Linked DNA regions of Homo sapiens: region 1 is linked to region 2. The links are contacts of gene promoters, found by promoter capture Hi-C in blood cells and fetal thymus (Javierre and others, 2016). All regions are on one chromosome and are shown on one strand. The core of a region is centred on a gene start or on the middle of the fragment in contact, and the rest is flanking DNA. Distances in the headings are between cores, read along the strand shown.

Region 1 (4,964 bases), core at 442-2,941, 100 kb after region 2:
CCAAGAGGCAGGGAGCTTGGGTGGGGGCTGCACAGCTGTGGGCTTCTGTTCTGGGCTGCTGCTGCCTAGTGCTGCGGCTTCTGAAGTGTTACCCAGCCTCAGAGTTCAGCCCTCATCTGTAAAGTAGGTTTAAGAAAACCGACTCCAGGTGAAGAAAATGGAGCAATATGCACTGGGCACGGCACCCATTCCTGTTCCCAGAGACCGCGGTGGTTCTCACTGTGCGGCATGTGCCTCTCACCTCCCCTCCCTTCCAACCACCTTTCGGGTGCTGAGCCGCGTCGAAGGGACTTTTTGTCTCCTACCTCAGAGGCTCTCCCAAGCCAGCCCTGGCCCCACTGTCGGGCACAGCTCAGCACGCAGGCGCCGGGACCTTACCTGTCTGGCTGCCGACAGTCAGGTTCTGCTGCAGAAGCACGTTCTCTATGCAGCAGCCAATGTTCACGCTGGGGGTCCGTGCGATCCTCAGCACGCTGACCACGTCATACAAGCCCCGCATGTTCAAGAAGACGGTGTCATTCTGCAGAGCCTGGTCCAGCAGGCTGTTGTCCGTCTTATTGATCCAGTACACGTTGGGCCTGGGGTAGCCGTTTATGGATGTACACGTGAAGGTGAGCTCATCCTGGGAGGGGCTGTGGGGGGCGCTGACGACGGGCACGCTGAAGTTTGCTGCAGGGGAGGGAAACAGATTGTGAGAGATGCCAGACCCTGCTGGTCAAGAAACAGAGGGTACACGGTGCCAAGGCTGGGTCAGAGGGGAGGCGGCCCATTGTGCCCCGACATGGGTGACAGGCCAGGACCAGGGCTGTGGTCCGAGCAGCAGGCTCCGCCCTGTCCTGCCCAAGAGTCATCCCCCAAGCCAGTCCCAGTAGCCAGGGACCGCTGAGCCTGTCGGGCAGTGACTGGCACCCACAGACCCCCCACTCCACAGCCGTCGGCTGTGCCGGGACCCCCTCATTTGGATCTGGTCATTCTCACTGCTGACACAGGGGCTCACAGTCCATCTGAAATGGACACAGCTGTTCTCCCCAATGAACTGCCCAGAGCTCCTTGGTTGCCTCTTATTTTTCTCTTAAATTTTGTTCTCATTTAGTGCTTTATAGAGTTCCCTTCAAATTTCACTTTTAAAACTCTAGTTTGGATGTGGTGGCTCACGCCTGTAATCACAGCACTTTGGGAGGGTGAGGCAGGAGGATCGCTTGTGTCCAGGAGTTTGAGACCAGCCTGGGCAACATAGTGAGACCCCATTTCTACAAATAATCAAAATTAGCCAGGCGAGGTGGCATGTGCCTGTAGTCCCAGATACTCAGGAGGCTGAAGCAGGAGAATTGCTTGAGCTCAGGAGGTCAAGGCTGCAGCGTGATCACGCTACTGCACTCCAGCCTGGGCAACAGTGAGACCCTGTCTCAAAAAACAAACTAATTGGCCAGGCGCGGTGGCTCACACCTGTAATCCCAGCACTTTGGGAGGCTGAGGCGGGCGGATCACGAGGCCAGGAATTTGAGACCAGCCTGGCCAACATGGTGAAACCCTGTCTCTACTAAAAATACAAAAATTAGCTGGGTGTGGTGGCACGCGCCTGTAGTCCCAGCTACTCGGGAGGCTGTGGAGAATTGCTTGAACCCAGGAGGCGGGGGTTGCGGTGAGCCAAGATTGTGCCACTGCACTGCAGCCTGGGTGACAGAGCGAGACTCCGTCTCAAAAAACAAAAACAAAAACAAAAGCTAACTAACTCAAGAGGCAAAGACAGCAAGGGTAGGAGCTCTTCCGGGAAACCAAGCAGCCGCAGGTCATGCACTAAGGATTTTTCAGCTGTTTAGTTTCCCTCGAAGTTAGACAGAAGCCTGATAACACAGATGAGAATTTTCTTCACTGGAAGAAACAGTGAATGAGCCAGGGAGGGGGTTTCATGAACACTTGTCCACGATGTGAGGCTGGGATGGACCTAGCTCTCCCCGCCTCGATGGTCCTACCTGCCACATGCAGTGTAACCTCAACGCTCAAAACCTCCTGGAATCCCAGGGATTGGCTCAACACCAGGCAGTGAAACTTCTGCTCGTCCTGGGGGGTGACGTTGAACAAGCGCAGGGAGAAGTCGCCCCGCAGCATGCCGGCCGGTGACATCAGGGCTCGGTTCCGGTAGCGGCTGTCCACGTTTTCCAAGGAGCTGTTCTGTGGGATGTGGTAGGTCACCACGGTTTTCGACTCACTGGTTTGCCAATATACGTAAACATCATTTAAATCAAAACGGCTTCCTTCAGGGCAAGCGCAGCTGAGCTCCACGTCGCTGCCTACCATCGCTCTGACTTCCTTCTCCTGAGTATCTGCAATGGCCCAAAAGGTGCAAAATCTGTTTTCGGAGGCTGATGCCCAGGCCATGAAGCTACTCTATGGGGCAGACTTTGGGTTTCAAGCCTCAAACACCAACGGTGGCTCAGAATTTATTAACAAGGCACATGTAGGAATGCAGTCAAACTTGAAAAACGCAGACATTTCATGGTGAGGTCCATGTCAGTCTTTGGCTTCGATGACACACTCCTGTTATGTAAGGGGCTGCCATGGGGAGGAGCGGCTGGATGGGGCCTGGCCGCTCAGTGTTATTTTTGTTACTCAGCACTACTTTTACTACTTCTCGGGAGTCTATAATTAATGCACAATAAAAAGTTCTTTAAGGGAAAGGCATTTAAGGGAAAAGAATTTCTCAGCAATTACATTATATTGCTGCTCACTTGCAGTAGGAAAGCTGTCACAAATGTGGCAGACACAGGGTAGCTTTACTGTTTGTGCAGCTACGTAAATGCCTGTGGGAAAATCTTTTTTTTTGAGATGGAGTCTTGCTCCGTCACCCAGGCTGGGGTGCAATGGCGTGATCTCAGCTCACTGCAACCCCCGACTCTGGGGTTCACGCCATTCTCCTGCCTCACCCTCCCAAGTAGCTGGGATTACAGGTGCCCGCCACCATGCCCAGCTAATTTTTTGTATTTTTAGTAGAGATCGGGCTTCACTATGTTGGCCAGCCTGGTCTCGAACTCCTGACCTCAGGTGATCCACCCGCCTTGGCCTCCCAAAGTCCTGGGATTACAGGAGTGAGCCACTGCACCTGGCACCTGCAGGAAAATCTGTGTGTGTCCCCTGCCCCCAAAGCCCTCTGGGCTGGAAGGCTTGGCAAGGTTTCAGGTTTGTGCTGCGGTGCTTCGTCCTTATTCCTGGCTCTTCCAGAGGCTGGTGGCTCTTAGGGCTCAGCAGGGCTGCTGCCTGGGACAGGGAGACCAGGGGACCCAGGAAGCCCTGGCTCAGAGGAACTGCATTCTGCCCGCAACAAAGACGGAGTCAAACAAGAACTCCGGAGTTTGCAGAAGTGTTTCCCTTTAAGGAAACGCTTCTATCCTGTGCAGCAACCTAGGTTTAGGGTCCAACTGTCTCCAAAGGACCACTTGAGAAGCAAGAAGGAGCCTGGTGAGGCTGCTCCCAGTGCCCTGCGGCCAGCAGTCCACACAGCCGGAGAGCCCATCTCTGAGCTGGGCGCCCCATGGCAAAGCACCCCCTGAACTTACCAGCTCGAAGGCTGCTGAAGAGCAGGAAGAGCAGTCCAGGACTGGAAAAAACAACCAGAAAGGCAGGTGAGGCGGGGCCACCAGGGAGTTACCTGTATCTTCCAAACAGGAACAGGCTGGTTCCCATGAGCAGGAGGTAGTTAAGCCCATCACAGAAATGTGAAGGCAGAGCCAGGAGCCTGCCTGCCTCTGTTCTCCATGGGAATTCGGGGTCCGGGGCCAGGACCACCACCCTCCTGCCCAGCACAGCAAGTCCGAGGGGCTGGCAGCCTCTCACCACTCTCTAGCTCTCGCGGTAACAAATCCCCAGAAACACAGTGATGCTGGCGTGAGGATGAAGGGGAGCGAGGGACGCCAGTGAGGCTGGTCTAGCCTTCCTGGGGACAGATGCCAAGAAGTTGTAGGAAATCAGAAAAAAAAAAAAAAAAAAAAGCTTTCAGGGCACATATAGTAGGAGTGTCACTTAAAATGCTGGGGAGACGGAGAACATCAGGCGTGCCCGTGACAGGGTCAGGTGAGTGACGGGACAGCCCTGTGCGGAACGCGGATCATTTTGAAACCAAACCTGAGCTCCTCCTGTTTCAGATCCTGCTGCAGCTGGTGCCCCTGCCTCGGGCAGCAAATTCCCCTCGTGACTCCAATGCCCCTGCCATCTTGGGTCTGGGAGCCTTTGCACCCTGCACGCCACAGGCTCGCCACCTCCTCCCGCCAGCCCCCAGGATGCCTTCCCCACGTGGGGGCCCTTAGTGGCCGGGACCACTTTGGTAGCAGTGCTTACCCCAGCCCCCCAAACCATCAGTTTCTGGGGCCAGCTCCCCATGAAGCAAGAGCCCCAGGAGCAGGGACATCTCCTTCTCTGATGTCCCTGCACCTCCAAGGTCTGGGAGACGCTCATCCCTCTTCTCTGTGGCCTCTGCCTGGGAAAGCTTGGGGGCTTTGTAAGTCAAAGGTTGGTCTTGTGGGAACCTCCCAGTGGGCTGTCCCTGAGCCCTGGAGCCACAGAAACCCCTGCCCCACCCACGATGGCTGTCATCTGAGTCTGCATGGAGGTGTGTCTGTGCCAAGTGAGCACACATGCACCAAGGCGGCCCCTGGCCACCAGGGGCTCTTGAAGTCTGCAGGCGGCCCTTCCTCTCTCTCCCACTCCCCCTGTTGGGGCCACCATTCTGGCTGGCAAGATGGCTGTGATGGCCTCCAGCAGGCCCCCTGCCTCCACCCTTAGCCCCTTCAAGCATTTCCCCAGAGCCACCATCTAAACGACAGCTGTGAGAACTCCTCTGTGCCCCCATTTGTCTCCCACAGTGCCCATATTCATCACCAGCCCACAAGGCCCCTCCTGTCTATGGAGGCCTCCTCAGGACATCTGGGGGCTTCCTGGGCCAGGGTGGGGGGTGCCTGCTCCAGGCTGTT
Region 2 (5,382 bases), core at 128-2,627:
CGGAGGAGCAGGAACGAGGACAGTCAAATGTGCCAAGCTTGTCTTTGGTTGTAACTGGTAATGTCCCATGTCTGTTATTCTAGTTCCCCACTATCTTGCAAGGATTGGCAGTAAAGTCCTAGTGATGGACAACGCGGCAGTGGGGAAAGTGACAGCCGTGGCTAGATCATCAGATGTGTCTGTAGAATCCGGTGTGTCCCTGTGAACATCCGCCAGCAGTAACCATTCACATTATTTCAAAAACCTGCATTATTAGGTTGAAAATGGGTAAATCGGGGAAAAAGCCAGCACTTATCCAGCTATTCCTCTGTGAACTAACCCATGCATAACAAACAGATTTTTTTAATGGAAGAATTCCAGCTAGGACCCGAGCAGCTGGGATCTTCACACTGACCGTCCATGCTGTGAACGTAAAAAACAAAAACAAAAAAACAAACCCAAACAGCGCCCGGGAATGGTGGCTCACGCCTGTAATCCCAGCACTTTGGGAGTCCGAGGCGGGCAGATCACCTGAGCTCGGGAGTTCAAGACCAGCCAGACCAACATGGAGAAACCCCGTCTCTACTAAAAATACAAAATTAGCCTGGCGTGGTGGCGCATGCCTGTAGTCCCAGCTACTTGGGAGGCTGAGGCAGAAGAGTCGCTTGAACCTGGGAGGCGGAGGTTGCGTTGAGCCGACTTCGCGCCATTGCACTCCAGCCCGGGCAACAAGAGGGAAACTCCGTCTCAAAAAAAAAAAAAAAAAAACCCAAACAGAATCGGCGGCTCACTTGCCCCCAGACTAACCCAGATCAAGCCCCTGGGTGGAACTGCAGTTTCCAGGATACAACATCCCGGGGTCAGTAAAACCCGGAGGGGTCGCTCCGTGGGAGCCGGAGCCGCGAGGAGACAGTCATGGAAGCGGAGGGGTAGTCCTGACCCCGCGTGGGTCCTGACGCCGAGATTAAGACGAGTGGCCATTTAGGAGGATGTGGACCCTGGACGCTCGTGGTGAGTTAAGGATGAGACGGAGGTAAGGTAAGAAGCGCCGGACTGAGCCGCCCCGAGGCAGCCTTGCTCTGCGGATGGCGGAAAGGGTGCGCCGCCTGTGGAGGCGTCCGATGGGGGCGGGGCTGGGGACCCCGGGAGTCACCAGCATCCCTCAGCCTCGAGCACGAGCCCTCAGCCACCACCGGAAGGAAGACAGGGTTCCCGGAACTCTATTCGGAGGCTCTGCGCAGGCGCGGCCCCCGCCCACCGGCGAACTCACTGGATAGGGCTGAGACGGGGGCGGGTCTTGGCTCCGCCCAGAAGGCTGCGCAGGCGCAGTCCCGACGAGCAACGCGTTTGTAGAGGGGTGGGTGCGCACGCTCTGTCCCTGCGTGACCTTCCGACCCCGCTGTCCTCACCGCAATGGCGGCTGTGAGGGTCCTGGTGGCCTCGAGGCTCGCTGCGGCATCTGCATTCACGTCCCTGTCCCCCGGCGGTCGGACGCCTTCCCAGCGCGCAGCCCTTCACCTCTCCGTGCCGCGCCCCGCGGCCAGGGTCGCGCTGGTGAGTGGACGGAGGGGGTGAGGTCAGCTCCCGCCTCCAGAGATCAGCCTTCGCTGTTCTCTGCCCAAGGTCGGCCCCTCTTCCTAGGTCCGCTCCCGCCGCCCCACGTCGGCTCCTTCACCCCAAGTCAGCTCCTGCGGCCCAGGTCGGCCCCATTTTCCCGGGTCAGCGCCCGCGGCCCAGGTCGGCCCCTTTCCCCCCAGTCAACTCCCGCCGCCCAGGTCGGCCCCTTTCCCCCGGGTCAGCTCCCGCTCCTCTCGCAGGTGCTGTCTGGATGCGGAGTCTACGATGGGACCGAGATCCACGAGGCCTCGGCGTAAGTCCTCAGGGGCAGCTGGTCCTCCACCCCGGGGGCCTCGAGAAGGCCTCTCCACCAGTGAAGTTTACTCTTTTTTGAACAGCTTAGAGAAAGCATGTATTTTATTTTATTTTTACTTTTTGTCTTTTGAGACAGCGCCCAGTCTGGAGTGCAATGGCGCGATCTTGGCTCACTGCGGCCTCCGCCTCCTGGGTTCAAGCGATTCTCCTGCCTCAGCCTTCCGAGTAGCTGGGACTACAAGCATGCACCACCACACCCAACTAATTTGTGTATTTTTGGTAGATACGGAGTTTCACCATGTTGGCCAGGCTGGTCTCAAACTCCTGACCTCAAGTGATCCTCCCGCTTTGGCCTCCCAAAGTGCTGGGATTACAGGCATGAGCCACTGCACCCGGCCGAGAGAGCTTGTATTTTAAATACCCTATTCTTGGCTAAAAAAAAGCAAAAACGACTTGCAAAACCCAGGGAGACGCTAAGAAAGAACAGTTTTTAAGTGTCGCTTATGCTGTCACCTAGAGCCTAGAAATGACTTAGCATTTCACTTGAGTGTTTTTCAGGACACACACATTTTGAAAACACTGAGATCACACTCACCCGTGTTTTGCAAATGTTTCTGACGCATGGGAAGTAATTCCCATTCATTCAGTTCTCAACATCATTTTAACAGTTGCGTGGTATTTCTGGGTCCTAGACAGGTTACTGTTTACGTAACTGGTCAGCTGTTGCTGAGTGCTTGGTGGCCTGATTTCCTGTGCTACTGGAAATGACTGCAGGCCGAACCAGTAGGGCAGGAGGCCACCACGCGTGCCAGGTACCTGTAGTTCCCATGTGGTTCAGGGTGAACTGGAGAGGGGAGAGCTGGGTGGTGGCGAAAGGGGTGTCAGGCCATGGAGAGTGGCCTGAGGCTGGTGGCTTTGTGGGTGGCCCACCTTGGCTGGTTGGAGTTGGCACTAGGCAGAGTGAGCTGGGGGAAAGGGCCAGGATGTGTTTCATGATTTGGCCTTGGTGGGATAGAAAATAGCCCCAGAATAGCTTGAGCCCTCCCAGGCAGAACGGCAGGGTCTTGTGTCTGGGGTGTCTGGGTGGATTTCTTATGGGTAGCGGAACCCAAGTGCCAGGGCCAGGTGCTGACCTCTCCCTCTGGCAAGTCACTGCACTTCATGCCTCGGTTTCCTCCTCCACGTAAGGGGCAGTGAGGGCTTAGTGTGTGGGTGGGCTTAGCCACCTATCTCCTGTTGGCACTGGGAGTTGCGGATGCCAGCGTGAGCCCCCATAATGTCAGCTGTTGTCCCCAGGAGGAGCTTCTGTTGCCCTTGCCCTTGGGGAGATGGAGCTGCCTGGCCTGTGGTGTTGTCCTGGGGTCTCTTGTGTCTCTCCCACCATCTGTGATGGGAAAGTTGAGGGAGACTAGAAATTGAACTAAGTAGTGACCGAAAGCCCCGTCACACCGTCTGTGCACGTGGCACTCTGAGCACACTGCTGCTTCTCACTCTTGGTGCTTGCAGCAAGCAACTGGAGGAGGGCAGCCAGGCCCTGGGTGTAGGTAGAGCACTCAGCAGCCGGGGACCCGCACGCCTCCAGGCTGTGCCCTCAGTGGAGTCACCCGGCCCCCATACCCCAGTTTGCAAAGGGAGCTGTTGGGACCAGCTGATCTCCATAGCCCACTTCTGAGGGTTTGTCATAGTCGTAACCCACCAACCGACAGTGAATTGGAATGGGGGTGTGGGGGACGTTTGGCTTGGTATGGAACCAACTGTAACTTTTTGCAGAGCAAGTAAGATATTAATATACATTAGGAATTTGCTCCTGGTACTTAGCTAAAATCCTGTTTTTAAAAATGTGTTAACACAAATCTGAGTGGGGCACGTTTTGAAGAGTTGTCTCTGGTTTTCCCCCGTGCAGGATCCTGGTGCACCTGAGCCGTGGAGGGGCTGAAGTCCAGATCTTTGCTCCTGACGTCCCTCAGATGCACGTGATTGACCACACCAAGGGGCAGCCGTCCGAAGGCGAGAGCAGGTGTGGGGGTGGGATTGGAACTTGCTTCTTGTCTACCTCCCACGGTGCAGCCTTTTTTTGCTGGCTTAGCTTAAACCAAGTCTTGTGTGCAAATGAACGTCCTTCTGAGCAGCTGTGCTCGGGCTGTTCCAGAAGTAATGCTGCCAAGGCTCAGGAGTGCCTTCCTTCCAGTACTCACAGAAGGACTGAAAATGGCGACCGGATCGCTTCCCACTGAGTCAGGCTGCTCATACCTTGGTCTTAAGCAAAGGTGGTGGTTCTCAGCTTGGTCGCCCACCTTCTTCCCCTGTCTGGGCTCCAGATCTGTTTTGCTGGTTCCCAGCAGCATGTCTGTTACTGCGGTGTGTGTGGTTCTGGCCTGTGTGGCCTGAGATCCCCTTCCCTTGCCTGTCCTGCCTGACAGCCCTGTGCAGGCCATTCCAAGGTGCCTTCCAACTGGCCTCGGACCACGAGAGGTCGGAGCTGGAGATTCGAGGAAGAAGCCATAGCTGCCTCCTGGGGCTGTGCTTCTCACCAGTGGGGACCCCTGTGATTTCTTTTCCTGCCTGGGACCCTGGCTTCTGCACCTGGACTTGCACCTTCGGCCCCCACACCTGGGGGCTAGCAGCTTCCTGCGGTGGCTGGCCTTCGGGTTGCTTCACTGGTCCTGAGTCCTGGCTTCTTACCTTCCCCTCTGAGTCCCACCGTCCTGATGAGTGCACAGAATTCTGTCTGCTTTAGACACTCGGAGAGACTTCCATTTCCCATGGGCCTTGACTGCAGAAGATTCAGAGTGATTTGGCGCAGGTTCTGAAGTGCTGATCGGAAGAGCCCAGCATAGATTTAGCGTTGCTAGAACCATGTTGTCTTTCCAGGTAGTGACCAAACATGCTGACCTGGAAGTAAGTCCCCGTGTGGCTGAGAGCCACGTGTGTGGAGCGTGTTGCCTGTGGGCTGTGCCCCTGCCGCGCTCCACAGTCCTTCACCTGCATGCTGAGGCTTTTTGCCCTGTGCTCTTTCCCAGGAATGTTTTGACCGAGTCTGCGAGGATCGCCCGTGGCAAAATCACAGACCTGGCCAACCTCAGTGCAGCCAACCATGATGCTGCCATCTTTCCAGGAGGCTTTGGAGCGGCTAAAAACCTGTGCGTATTTGAGCTCCAAGGTCTTCCGCTTTCCATGTGGAGCAGATGGGAAGGGGGTGCACCTGTCTGCTGTCCAATGTGGTCAGTGGAGCGGCGATGGGAGGGGGTGGTGATAGGAGCAGTCTCTGGGTTTAGGGTCTGGGCAGGGCACGTGCCTGCCCTCTGACTTGGGAGCTGTTCTTAGGGTTGGGTCTTAGGTAGCGTTGTAGCGAGCCATGCTTTTGTTTCTGCTTCTCTGCTGCCTCTTCTCTCAGCATTCCTGGTACCCAGCAGCTTGTCAGAGTGGGTTTGGGGCTCCCTCTTATCTCATCACTGTGCTGTAGGTCTCGTCACGTTGAAATCAGTCTCTGAGTATTTACTCCTTGCAAGTGCCAGTTTTTTTTCTCTCTCT

What was found. The method cuts DNA at HindIII sites, captures the fragments that hold promoters and counts their contacts. A CHiCAGO score of 5 or more calls a contact.
Region 1: a fragment that was not itself captured here is called in contact with the fragment with the promoter of GATD3 in region 2 in 2 of 17 cell types (naive B cells and total B cells); the score reaches 7.3 in naive B cells.

What each region holds. Positions count from the first base shown.
Region 1 is chr21:44,234,894-44,239,857 of GRCh38, forward strand. ICOSLG (inducible T cell costimulator ligand) reads right to left here. Exons shown (of 7, transcript NM_015259.6): 2 at 3,555-3,595; 3 at 1,974-2,324; 4 at 379-669. Among named protein-coding and RNA genes, the nearest start is that of ICOSLG, 3.6 kb to the right of the region's middle. RefSeq lists an enhancer at 4,527-4,964. The HindIII fragment of the contact is 4,588 bases long and covers 1-3,985 here.
Region 2 is chr21:44,132,306-44,137,687 of GRCh38, forward strand. GATD3 (glutamine amidotransferase class 1 domain containing 3) reads left to right here and starts at 1,378. Exons shown (of 7, transcript NM_004649.8): 1 at 1,378-1,533; 2 at 1,797-1,849; 3 at 3,755-3,868; 4 at 4,872-4,991. The coding sequence starts at 1,393. RefSeq lists enhancers at 878-1,405, 1,406-1,933, 1,934-2,461. The HindIII fragment of the contact is 13,325 bases long and covers 36-5,382 here.